2 separate regions of the Homo sapiens genome follow, and region 2 is linked to region 1. Evidence: promoter capture Hi-C in human tissues and cell types (Jung and others, 2019). All regions are on one chromosome and are shown on one strand. The core of a region is centred on a gene start or on the middle of the fragment in contact, and the rest is flanking DNA. Distances in the headings are between cores, read along the strand shown.

Region 1 (6,201 bases), core at 1,670-4,169:
TCTCTCTGTGTTCTCTTATAATTCACTGAGCTTCTTTAAGATGATTATTTTGAATTTTTCATCTGGAGTTCGTTGATGTCCACTTCTTTTGTGTCAGTTTCTCATACTTTATTTTGTTCTTTTGGTGATGTCATGTTTCTCTGATTATTCATGATCCTTATGGCCTTGCATTAGTGTCTGTGCATTTGAAGTAGTCAGTTCTTTACATACTGGCTTTAGCAGGAAAAGCACTTTGCCAGTCAGCCTATCTAGAGATTCTAGGCAGCCTGTTTGGTGGGGAGTTGCTGGTGGACTTCTCGCTGGAGTCCTTGAGAGGGATTGCCTGGTGCCTATTTCAGCAAGAGAGGAGGCTTGGCACCTGGTTCCACAGGGGCTGACCTGGTGCCTGGATCCCCTGGGATGGAACTGGAGTTTGAGTCCACATGAATGATTGCGTGTGTGTGTGTGTGTGTGTGTGTGTGTGTGTGATAACAGATCAATTTTAATTCTAGCACCTGAAGCTATACAAGGGTATGCTCTATAAACTTCATGGGACTGTTGCACATGCTGGATAAAATGACATCTGTGCAATACCACTTAGCATCTCAAAATCAGGAACATACTATTGAATTGCTTAAACACAATCCACAGAATTAAAAACAAAAGCAGATGCCATCCACAGTTACACTAATTGTCCATTAAAAGTTTACACTTAATGCTTGATATAACAATCAATATCTAGCAGGGAATATTGAAAGGGATTTCAGAGTCTCATCCTGTTGTACTCTATTGGGAAGGTTTCTTGAGTACATATGTGACTGGCCAAAGATGGATACAACCAAGACCAGACCAGCAAGTAAAAGTTCTACAACAGTTTCTGTAGTTTCCACTTGCTTTTCTCTGGACAGCCTGTATCCGTGTTCGCTAAAGTGGAACTCGGGCTCAGGTCTGCAGTGCAGCCAGGAACTCACTTTACTCTCCATCCCCCATGAAGTGGGTTTCTCTCTCTGTGCTGCCTTGGGTTCAGGAAGGGGATGATGCAGATCAAGTGAAACTCTTTCCTACCATCTTCAGTACATCTTTTCTTTTCTTTTTCTTGTTTTTCTTTCTTTTTGCCTTTTTTTTTTTTTTTTTTTTTTTGAGATGGAGTCTCGCTCTGTCGCCCAGGTTGGAGTGCAATGGCGCGATCTCGGCTCACCGCAACCTCTGCCTCCCGGTTCAAGACATTCTTCTGCCCCAGCCTCCTGAGTACCTGGGATTACAGGTGCGTCCACCACGTCTGGCTAATTTTTTTTTTGTATTTTTAGTAGAGATGGGGTTTCTCCATGTTCATCAGGCTGGTTGGAACTCCTGACCTCAGGTGATCCACCCACCTCGGCCTCCAAAAGTGCTGGAATTACAGGCGTGAGCCACCATGCTCGGCCTATCTTTTCTTACCGTTATTTTCCATTCAAGTTCTGTGGTCTCTCAGCTGATTCTTTGACTCTTGTGAAAGTATTTTTCTGCACAGAAGATTATTGAAATGAATGTTTCTGTGAAAGGATAAAGGTTCGAAACATATCCTGCCACATTGTTGACTCACTCTCAGAGTCATGCCCAGTCTTGCCAATTTCCACTGTTGAATAAGGGGGATTCCACGTGGTTTTACTTTTTTTTGGAGTAATGTAGCTAAATATGCTCTCTAGTATTGTCCACTTGTATATTATTTTATGTGAAGTGTTGCTTCACATCTTTTATATCTTTTAAAAGTAGGTTGTCTTTTTCTTTTTGCCTTACAGAATTTTTTTTTTTTTGTGACAGAGTCTCGCTCTGTTGCCCAGGCTGGAGTACAGTGGCACGATCTCAGCTCACTGTAACCTCTGCCTCCCAGGTTGAAGTGATTCTCCTGCCTCAGCCTCCTGAGTAGCTGGGATTACAGGTGCACACCACCACGCCCAGCTAATTTTTTTTTTTTTTTTTTTTTTTTTTTTTGAGAAGGAGTCTTGCTCTGTCGCCCAGGCTGGAGTGCAGTGGCATGATCTCGGCTCACTGCAAGCTCCGTCTCCCAGGTTCATGCCATTCTCCTGCCTCAGCCTCCCAAGTAGCTGGGACTACAGGCGCCCGCCACCATGCCCGGCTAATTTTTTGTATTTTTAGTAGAGACGGGGTTTCACCGTGTTAGCCAGGATGGTCTCGATCTCCTGACCTCGTGATCCGCCCGCCTCAGCCTCCCAAAGTGCTGGGATTACAGGCATGAGCCACTGCACCCGGCCAAGCAATTATTTTTATAATCCCACTGGATTGTAGTCCCTGATGGCACTAATACCACACTGTTTAACTTGCTGTAGCCTTTTAATAAGACTCAATATATAGTAGAGTCTCTCCATTCTGTTCTTTTTACAGATCATCTTGTCTTTCTTAGTTCTTTGCATTTCCCTGTGTTTTTATTAGAATCAGTCTCTCTCTCTCTCTCTCCTCTCTCTCTCTCACGCGCACACACATACACACACACACACGTATACTTCCTGCTGAGGTATTGACTGGGATTGCATTGAATCTATAGATCAATAGATATTGGTGTAGAATTGGTGTCTTCATGGTATTAAATGTTCCAACCTCTTGGCCATGGTATATCCTTCTATTTATTTAAGCTTTCTTTAATTTTCTCAGTAACATTTTATGGTTTTTGGTGTAGAATTTATATAGTGCTTCCATTAGATGTAGTCCCAGGTATTTGATATATTTTTGTTGAGTTTGTAAATGACATAGTTTTACATGTCTTTTCTAGTTGACAGTGGTATATAAAAATATGATTTATTTTTGTACTTTGGCTTTGCCTCCGGTGTTGTTGCTAAATCAATATATTAAAACTATGTGTAGGCCGGGCGCAGTGGCTTATGCCTGTAATCCCAGCACTTTGGGAGGCTGAGGTGGGCGGATCCCCTGAGGTCAGGAGTTTGAGACCAGCCTGGGCAACATGGTGAAACCTCATCTCTACTAAGAATACAAAAATTAGCCGGGTGTGGTAGTGCATGCCTGTAATCCCAGCTACTCAGGAGGCTGAGGCAACAGAATTGCTTGAACCCGGGAAGAGAAGGTCGTGGTGAGCCAAGATATACCACTGTACTCCAGCCTGGGCAACAGAGCAAAACTCTGTCTCAAAAAAAAAAAAAAAAAAAAAAAACTATGTGTAGGTTGGGCGTGGTGGCCCACACCTGTAATCCAAGTACTTTGGAAGGCTGAGATGGGTGGATCACCTGAGACCAGAAGTTTGAGACCACCCTGGCCTACACGATAAAACCACATCTCTACTAAAACTACAGAAAAAATTAGCTGGGTGTGGTGGTGAGCACCTGTTGTCCCAGCTACTTGGGAGGTTGAGGGAGGAGAATTGCTTGAACCTGGGAGGCAGAGGTTGCAGTGAGCCGAGATTGCACCACTGCACTCCAGCCTGGGCGACACAGTGAGTCCATCTCAAAAGTAAAAATAAAACTATGTGTAGATTATTTAGAATTTTCTTTTTTTTTTTTTTTTGAGACAGAGTCTCACTCTGTCACCCAGGCTGGAGTGCAGTGGTGTGATCTCGGCTCACTGTAAGCTCCACCTCCTGGGTTCACGCCATTCTCCTGCCTCAGCCTCCCAAGTAGCTGAGACTACAGGCGGCTAGTTCTTTGTATTTTTAGTAGAGACAGGGTTTCACCGTGTTAGCCAGGATAGTCTCGATCTCCTGGCCTCATGATCCACCCACCTCGGCCTCCTAAAGTGCTGGGGTTACAGGCGTGAGCCACAATGACTGGCCTAGAATTTTCTACATACATAATGAAGTAATCTCTAAATAATGACTCATTTCTTCCTATTCAATCTTTTTGTCTCATTGCATTGACTAAAACCTCAAGTTCAATATTAGCTAACTCATTTCCTAATTTTAAAAAACGTGCAGCTCACTGCCAGAGTTCATTTAACTTTACATAAACACACTTGTTGAGGCTGAAGCAAATCTGGTTGAGTTTCAATGTGCAAATAAAATATAAAAACTGTTCTTGGAGTTATTTCTGAACAGAATTTGTCTCTAATCCTAATGTAGCAGAAATGTATATGATGTTACATTGGGATTAGAGACAAGAGTATTCTCGGGGCAAATGGGAAATGGGTTAAAAGTAGTAATAACAATCCTGGCCGGGTGTGGCGGCTCACGCCTGTAATCCCAGCATTTTGAGAGGCCAAGGTGAGCAGATCACCTGAGGCCAGGAGTTCGAGACCAGCCTGGTCCAACGTGGCGAAATATCATCTCTACTAAAAATACAAAAATTAGCCAGGCATGGTGGTGGGCACCTGCAATCCCAGCTACCCGGAAGGATGAGGCAGGAGAATTGCTTGAACCCGGGAGTTGGAGGTTGCAGTGGGCCAAGATTATGCCACTGCACTCCAGCCTGGGTGACAAACTGAGACTTCATCTCAAAAAAAAAAAAAAAAAGAGAACATAAATTATTCTACTATAAAGACACACGCACCATATGTTTATTGCAGCACTATTTACAATAGCAAAGTCATGGCACCAACCCAAATGTCCATCGATGATAGACTGGATAAAGAAAATGTGGTACCTATACACCATGGAATACTACGCAGTCATAAAAAGGAAAGAGATCGTGTCCTTTGCAGGGACATGGATGAAGCTGGAAACCATCACCCTCAGCAAACTAACACAGGAACAGAAAACCAAACACCGCATGTTCTCACTCATAAGTGGGAGCTGAACAATGAGAACACATGGACACAGGGAGGGGAACGTCACACATCGGGCCTGTTGGGGGGTGAGAAGTGAGAGGAGGCAACTTAGAGGACGGGTCAGCAGGTGCAGCAAACCGCCATGGCACACATATACTTATGTAACAAACCTGCATGTTCTGCACATGTATCCCGGAACTTAAAGTTAAAAAAAAAAAATTGACCGGGCGCGGTGGCTCACACCTGTAATCCCAGCACTTTGGGAGGCCAAGGCGGGCGGATCACGAGGTCAGGAGATCGAGACCATCCTGGCTAACACGGTGAAACCCCGTCTCTACTAAAAATACAAAAAATTAGCCGGGCGTGGTGGCAGACACCTGTAGTCCCAGCTACTCGGGAAGCTGAGGCAGGAGAATGGCATGAACCTGGGAGACGGAGCTTGCAGTGAGCCGAGATCACGCCACTGCACTCCAGCCTGGGCAAGAGAGCAAGACTCCGTCTCAAAAAAGAAAAAAAATTAGCCAGGTGTGGTGGTACACACCCATAATCCCAGCTACTCAGGAGGCTGAGGCAGGAGAATGGCATGAACCCGGGAGGCAGAGGTTACAGTGAGCTGAGAGCACACCACTGCAGTCCAGCTTGGGCGAAAAGAGCCAGACTCCATCTCAAAAAAAAAAAAAAATCACCAACATATTTTCTATCTCTGGTTTCTCAAAAACTAAGGATTACTTACCTTATTAAATCTTCACATACCCCTACTGAATCCCTGGGTAGATGCGTTCTCTCTGTTTACTAACCAAAATATTAAATATAATCATTGCAACTCTCTCTTATGTCTTCCAGTGGTCAGAAGTGTATCATAGCATTTCATATTTATCTTATCTTTGTAACCTGCATTTTTACCAGTTCAATATAATTTTCACATATTGATTGCTAAAGAGTGAAATGAAGGAATTAGGTTAAAATGTTTTTATTGGAAACTATCATGTCAAGTACCTTTTTTTTTTTTTTTTTTTTTGAGACAGAGCCTCACTCTGTCACCCAGGCTGGAGTGCAGTAGTGCGATCTCGGCTCACTGCAACCTCTGCCTCCCGGTCTCAAGCGATTCTCCCACCTCAGCCTCTCAAGTAGCTGGGACTACGGGAGTGTGCCACCTCACCCAAGGAATTTTTGTATTTTTCTTTTTTGTAGAGACAGGATTTCACCATGTTGCCCAATGTGGTGAAGTACTTTTAATGTGGAAATTTCCAATAGCCATATGAGTTTGGGCATATCTCAGAAAGTCAGCAAACAGTGAGATCAAGCAAAAAGACGGAGTAGAAAGCTCTGGGAGCCCCTCCCTCCAGTGAAATAAACAGTGAACTGAGGGGCAGGAGACACAGAATCAATGATTTCAGAACTAGTCATCCTGTTGCAGCACTTATAATAATGAGAGGAGTGCTTGATGAAAAGAGAGACTGAGACTTTAGAAAGAGAACAGCCTTCACAAACCAGCCCCCACTCCCCATTCCTCCG
Region 2 (6,201 bases), core at 607-3,106, 190 kb after region 1:
CCTGGGGCCCCTACCCGTGGCTTCAGCACCTGTCCGCAACATTCCAGACTCCTAGGAGGCCCGGTCATCTCTGGCCTAGTCCTGATCTTGCCTGTGTCCCTGCAGATACCGTGGAGGGCTCAAATCCCACCATGCGCGGAGTCCTCCAGCGGATCCTGGCCCAGCAGGGCTGGCTAGGGCTGTACCGAGGCATGACCCCCACGCTACTGAAGGTCTTACCAGCAGGTGGCATCAGCTATGTGGTGTACGAAGCCATGAAGAAAACCCTGGGCATATAGGCTGTGAGCTGGACGACACAGCCTAGGCAGAAATGGGACAGGAGGACCTGATGACCCCTGGCCCCAAAGAGCCCTCGAGGCCTCAAGGTTCAGGCCCTGGGGCAGTTTTTGGTGGCAAAAGCAGGCTGGGGGTGGGGGTGGGGCTCTGGGTCAGAAGATTCCTGAAGCTGGGGTTGGTGGTGGGTGGAGGGGGGCAGTGCTGGGTCAGAAAACTCCTGGGACTCCCTCCCCAGGGTGCAGCCTGAGACAAGAAACGTGGACTCCAGTCTGGCCCCTTGTGGGTCGTCCTGGCTCCAGGGCGAAATGGTGAACATGTCACACAACAAGGAATAAAGAGATGGTTTTTGCTGAACGTGTCTGGATACTTGGGCCTAGGAGTGGAACTGGGTGCATGAGATCCCTGGACCCAGTAGGGGAGCTGGGGACCTTGGGCCTCTGGGTCCTGAATGGGAATTTGTGTCCAGGAGAGGAAGTGAGGACCTAGGATAGGAGCTTGAGGCTTGGATCCCAGGGCCTTAGGCGAAGGGAGTGAGGGGTGTGAAGTGAGGGGTGTGATCGAGGCTGTGATCCCTCGATCCCGGTTGTTGGAACGGTTCTGGACTCGTGAGTGGGGCTGGTTCCTTGAGTCCTGCAAGAGAACTGGACGCTCTAGATGGGGGGTCGAGAGAGAAGAAGGCCCGGGGGATCCCGAGTTTCCTGCTTTCCGGCCTCCCCACCTCCGGAAGCGCTCGATCTCTAAGGCTTCAAGCGGGCCACGTGCCGGGCCTACCCAACCAGGCTGCCGGTGAGCTAACCCAGACATCAGGCCTGAGTTCGGGCAGCCGATTGCCACCGCCCACGTCGGCTGCCATTCACTACAGTTCCCGCTAATCCCCTCGCTGTCTGGTGGCCGACTCCGCCCCAATGCAGCGGCGCTTCCACTGGCTCCCACCAAAAGTGGGCGCTTTGATTTCCTTCATTCCCATTTGTCCAGACCAGTGTCAGTCACCGAACACCCACCCATGTCGCTCAGCCATTGGCTTAGAAGTCAGGGATAGAAAAGGATTCTGGTTAACAAGGGAAGCAATTAAAGTCCAAAGCCAACCTCATCACCCAGAACTCGTCAGGAATTGGATTAATTGGCTGCCCATCTTTACAAGCACCACCTCTCACGTGCATTCATTGGCTTGTGTCCACGACTATCAAACCTAACGCCCACCCAGCCGGTCCATAGGAGTCTTCCACTAGGCCCGGCCTTACAGTCCACGTGACTCTTCAGAACCGTCAATCTAATTCTGAAGCCGCCCCGCGAATCTGGCACTCGCGTTTCATTGGGCCTCCTGCCTTCTCAGATCTCCTTCATTTGCCCGCCCAGCACGGGCAGCTCGCAGCTATTGCCTCTGAGAGCTGTCAGTCACTCTGAGCCTCCCGCCCACTGCCCCTCATTGCACTCCGATTGGCCACCTCCTACAGAGCTCGCGATTGGTGTCCGGGGTGCGGCGGCTGCCTCCCATTGGCCCGCCGGAGTCGTCCGTCACGTCGGCGGCGGGAGGGGCGACTCTCTCCCCCCTCGTCGTCCTCCCAGCGGCTGGGTTCCCAGAGTGCTCCGCGGCCGTGTGGAGCGAGGCCTTGTTCCCGCGTTGAGCCGCCGCCGCCGCCGCCGCCTCCTCAGCTTCAGCCTCCGCGCCAGGCCCGGCCCCGCCGCGCCATGTCGGACTACAGCACGGGAGGACCCCCGCCCGGGCCGCCGCCGCCCGCCGGCGGGGGCGGGGGAGCCGGAGGCGCCGGGGGAGGCCCTCCGCCGGGCCCGCCAGGCGCGGGGGACCGGGGCGGCGGCGGTCCCGGCGGCGGCGGCCCGGGCGGGGGGTCGGCCGGGGGCCCCTCTCAGCCACCCGGCGGAGGCGGCCCGGGAATCCGCAAGGACGCTTTCGCCGACGCCGTGCAGCGGGCCCGCCAGGTGAGGAGGCCGAGGGCCTGAGGGGCGCGCTCGCGCGCGCGCGCAGGCGGGGGAGGGGGCGGGGGTCACGTGCGCGCGCGCGCGCAGGGTCGCGGAGGGGGGCCGGGGCCGTCGCGGGGTCACGTGGGCGGTAGGCGGGGGCCTGGCCCTCCCGCTGCGCCTCGAGTGGGATCCCAACGGGTGACCCCCCTGCAGGGAGTAGGGGCGCACTGGGGGTCACCAGGAGCGGCGCCTGGGTGTGCAGGCGCCCCGGAGCTCGGAGACGCACTTTTGGGACCCCCCCCTTAGCCCCCCGGCCTTAGGACATGCCTGGAGGCAGGGGTCCACCTTCCCGGGCGGAGGGCCTTTACTCTCCCCTCCATATCAGGGCAAAGGGCAGTGTTTGCCCCCAACCCAGTCCCATTTCTGTCCCCTCTCTAGGAGAAAGGGACATTGTGGGGGTGGGAGGGACAGTCCTTCCTCTTCAGTCGGGAAAGTGGATGGGGACCTGTCTAGGGCTGAGCACTTGGGCGAAATGGGGAAGACGAGCATGGGGACTGGCTCTTGGATGCTTTGGTGGCTTGAAAGCGTGGTCTGTCTCTTTGGGGGAAAGAAGGGAGGGTCTCCCACCCCCGTGTATTGAGGCGTAATGACAAGGAAGTGTCACATGCTGCTAGGACTGACCTCTCCAGCTCCATTTGCAGCCTCCCCATGGCCTGGAGGGGTGGGGGTCGGTAGAATGGGAGGACTTTGCCGCCGACCGGCTCCTGGGCTGTCCCAATGCCTCCGGGGCTAGAGACTGGCTCCTCCCAAGGTGGGAGGTCCCGTTAAGTGAACGCCTGTGTTCTGGCCCTCTGTCGTCTCTCTCACCCTTGGAGTTGGGTGGGTTCTAGCGTGCATTTGGTCTTATTGCCCATGGAACCGTCTGATTCTGGGACAGCTTGAAGGGAGGAAGCTGGTGCTGTCAGTTGGTGGGGACAGGCCCCCTGTGGGCATCCCATGAGTTTTGGCTCTAGGGCAGCGTAGAAAAATGGAGACTGGTGGAAAGGGAGATTCTTAACATGGTTTGGGTTTCTAAACCCCAGACTCTGATCCTAAGTTTGCTGGGTTGAGGTTTCTTTAAAGTTGCTCTTCACGTGTCTGAGATGTAACTTGTGTCCCATAGAGTCTTGGTTTTTTGTTTGTTTGTTTGTTTTTTGGAAACAGTCTCAATATCACCCAGGCAGGGGTGCAGTGGCACGATCTCAGCACACCACAGCCTCCACCTCTCCAGTTGAAGTGCTCCTCCTGCCTCAGCCTCCCGAGTAGCTGGGATTATAAGTGTGCACCACCACACCCAGCTAATTTTTGTATTTTTAGTAGAGATGGAGTTTGACCATGTCAGCCAGTCTGTCTCGAACTCCTGAGTTCAAGTGATCTGCCCGCCTCGGCCTCCCAAAATGCTGGGATTACAGGCATAAGTCACAGTGCCCAGCCATCCAGAGAGTCTTCTGTTTTGGTCAAATGAGGATTTCATATCCCTTGAAGTGATCGCTTTGCTCAAATTTATTCAATAAATTGATAAAAGGATTTTGAGAGTGGGGGAGATAGGGGAAAATTGAACTCTTCAGCATCCCAGGAAAACGGGGCTAAAAAAAAACACACTTTCTGGTTTTCTGAGCTGGGGCCACTGGCAGGAGGAAGTGTCTGAAAGCTCTTGGAGATGACCTGGGAACCCTCCCTGACACCTGAGCCTCTGTTCCTTGTCACCCCTAGAACGAAGTCAGTGTGGATTATGGGCTGGCCACAATTAAGACACAAATCCCAGGAGAAGGGAAGAGGGGAATTTTGATATTCCCAGTTAACTGGTGAGAACCTTGAGGCCTAGGTTCAAAACTCCTAGGATGTCTTAACCAACTGACTCTTCCCTAAGTTGGAGGGCCAGACACCAAGACCTGATGGGCTTTCGTGTCCAGGAGATGTTCTGAGAAGTTGACCTGGGTGCCATGGAGGGTTGTTTTTGGTGGTAATTCTTCTGTGCTTACTACTTTATTCTAGATTGCAGCCAAAATTGGAGGCGATGCTGCCACGACAGTGAATAACAGCACTCCTGATTTTGGTTTTGGGGGCCAAAAGAGACAGTTGGAAGATGGAGGTAACTCCCTGCTGCTGCCTTTAGCTTAGGAGGAAGGGCTGGGGGCCTAAAGAGGTGCTTTTGTTTGAGTGTGGTTCAGAGGGGGTGGGTGTCACTGTTGTTTGGTCTTTTAAAACCTCAGCAATCCCGGCCTTGTTAATTCTTCTTGTTCCGTCTGCCATCCTGAGGTATCAGGTGGCAGAGAGGAGGGCAGATTGATTGTGACTGGGTCGAAGTTGTAAGTTCCCAAGATGATTCCTCCCTTTCTGGGAGGCTGAGGCAACCTGGAGCAGTTACTGAGGCTTGATGTGAAGTTGGCCCAGCTCTGGGGTGCGTAGTGTGACCCCAAGTAGCGGATGATCAACCCTGACCAACTCCACTGTTATCCACGACACCCTCCCTGCTAGAGGCAGGTCCTGTCCTAAACCGGGAGGACTCAGGTGCCTGGTGGTGGTTGCGTGTTCTGAAGGCTTTTTTACTCTGAGCGTTGGTGGCGGAATTGGCGGGGTCTGGCCTCCCTCAGGGGCCAGTCTCTCCTGGGCTCCTGTCTCAGCTCCTGTTAAGGGTGGGGGCCGAGGGGCACTGTTTACCTTGGACATGTGGCACCAGCATCAGGTTCGAGGCGGCCGTGGGTGGGTGGGTGCTGCATCTGCCATCCTCTCTCTTTCCCAGATCAACCGGAGAGCAAGAAGCTGGCTTCCCAGGGAGACTGTAAGTCCAGGGGGTCTGGTGGCAGATATGTGGCTTCAGAGGGTTGAGGTTTTCAGGAGTCAGGAGCTGGAAGCACTGAGGAGGTGGCAGCTCTTTACAGAGGCCCCTGGTGCTTCATTCTGGGGCCCATACGTTTGAGGGATCCCAGGAACCCTGAAATTGAGGGAGATGAGCTCTGTGCTTTTATGGGGAGGAATCCACAGCATCCATGAGGCACTGGAGCAGGCTGGGGACCGTGGTGCCGGGCTCAGCTCCCACTGACCCGGGGCAGGCAGTGCCAAGTGCCCGAGGAGGAGCTAAGCCAGTCTTTGCTTTGGGTTTTCTCTCTACAGCAATCAGTTCTCAACTTGGACCCATCCATCCTCCCCCAAGGTAAGCCATGGTGGGGCCCACACTGCTTTCTTGTCTGTTGGCCAGCAGACTGGCCTTTCTGCTGACTTGGGAGGGCTCTGACTGGGGGCACATCTCTCAGGTTTTATCCCCCAGTGCCAGTTGACCAGAGTGCTCAGACGGGAATGAGGCAGAGGAGCTGTGTCCGTTCCTCGTACCCCTTGTCTGAAGGGCTGTGGGAGGGGAGCGTCGTGGCAGTCACTGTAGTGATAGGGTGGTCTCCGCACCCTATGGCTTCCTCCGCTGGGGTGGGGACTCTGAGCAGCACAAATGTCGTCTTCCTGGAAGAGGCTAGGAGGGCCTTGCTTCCCTCCCTCACACATCTGCAAGTGCCCATCCCACTCAGTGCTGTGGAGCTCAGGGCTCTTTGCCACCTCTTTGCCCCACCAGATGGACTGAGGTGAACCTGACACAGGGCAGTTGTCAGGGGTCATTTTTTGTTTGTTTGTTTTTAATGGGCCAGTAGTTTCATAAAATACTAGGAAAATAAGATGAAAAGGACATACAGCCAGCTTTTTAGAACTGAGAGACATAGAGTGACTGTCAGCTTGCTACTCAGTGCTCCCTCTCGCCCTGAATCAATGGGACGGCACCAGGCCAAGGCCCACAATGCCCAGAGCAAGCCTCTCGGGGCACAGATGGGGAAACTGAGGCCTTGGCAGTTTTGTGGCCTGTGTGGTCAGACTCTGCTTAGACCTATGGTGGCCTTGGCTTCAAGTAGACCTTCCAGAGCTGCTGTCCTCCTCCCTTCCCACTTGAGGACTGACCTTTGGCGTGTCTCTTTACAGGACTTC

Evidence for each region. The method cuts DNA at HindIII sites, captures the fragments that hold promoters and counts their contacts. A contact is called where the count stands out against the background at its distance.
Region 2: a contact is called between the fragment with the promoter of KHSRP here and a fragment that was not itself captured in region 1, in 1 of the 25 tissues and cell types used here (pancreas).

Annotation. Positions count from the first base shown.
Region 1 is chr19:6,611,494-6,617,694 of GRCh38, reverse strand. No RefSeq gene overlaps it. Among named protein-coding and RNA genes, the nearest start is that of CD70, 23 kb to the right of the region's middle. RefSeq lists an enhancer at 1,498-1,717. The HindIII fragment of the contact is 5,013 bases long and covers 413-5,425 here.
Region 2 is chr19:6,420,466-6,426,666 of GRCh38, reverse strand. It overlaps KHSRP (KH-type splicing regulatory protein), which reads left to right and starts at 1,856. Exons shown (of 19, transcript NM_001366299.1): 1 at 1,856-2,214; 2 at 4,231-4,327; 3 at 4,979-5,017; 4 at 5,350-5,389; 5 at 6,196-6,201. The coding sequence starts at 1,966. SLC25A41 (solute carrier family 25 member 41) reads left to right here. Exons shown (of 7, transcript NM_173637.4): 7 at 106-630. The coding sequence ends at 278. RefSeq lists an enhancer at 1,429-1,548. The HindIII fragment of the contact is 26,210 bases long and covers 1-6,201 here.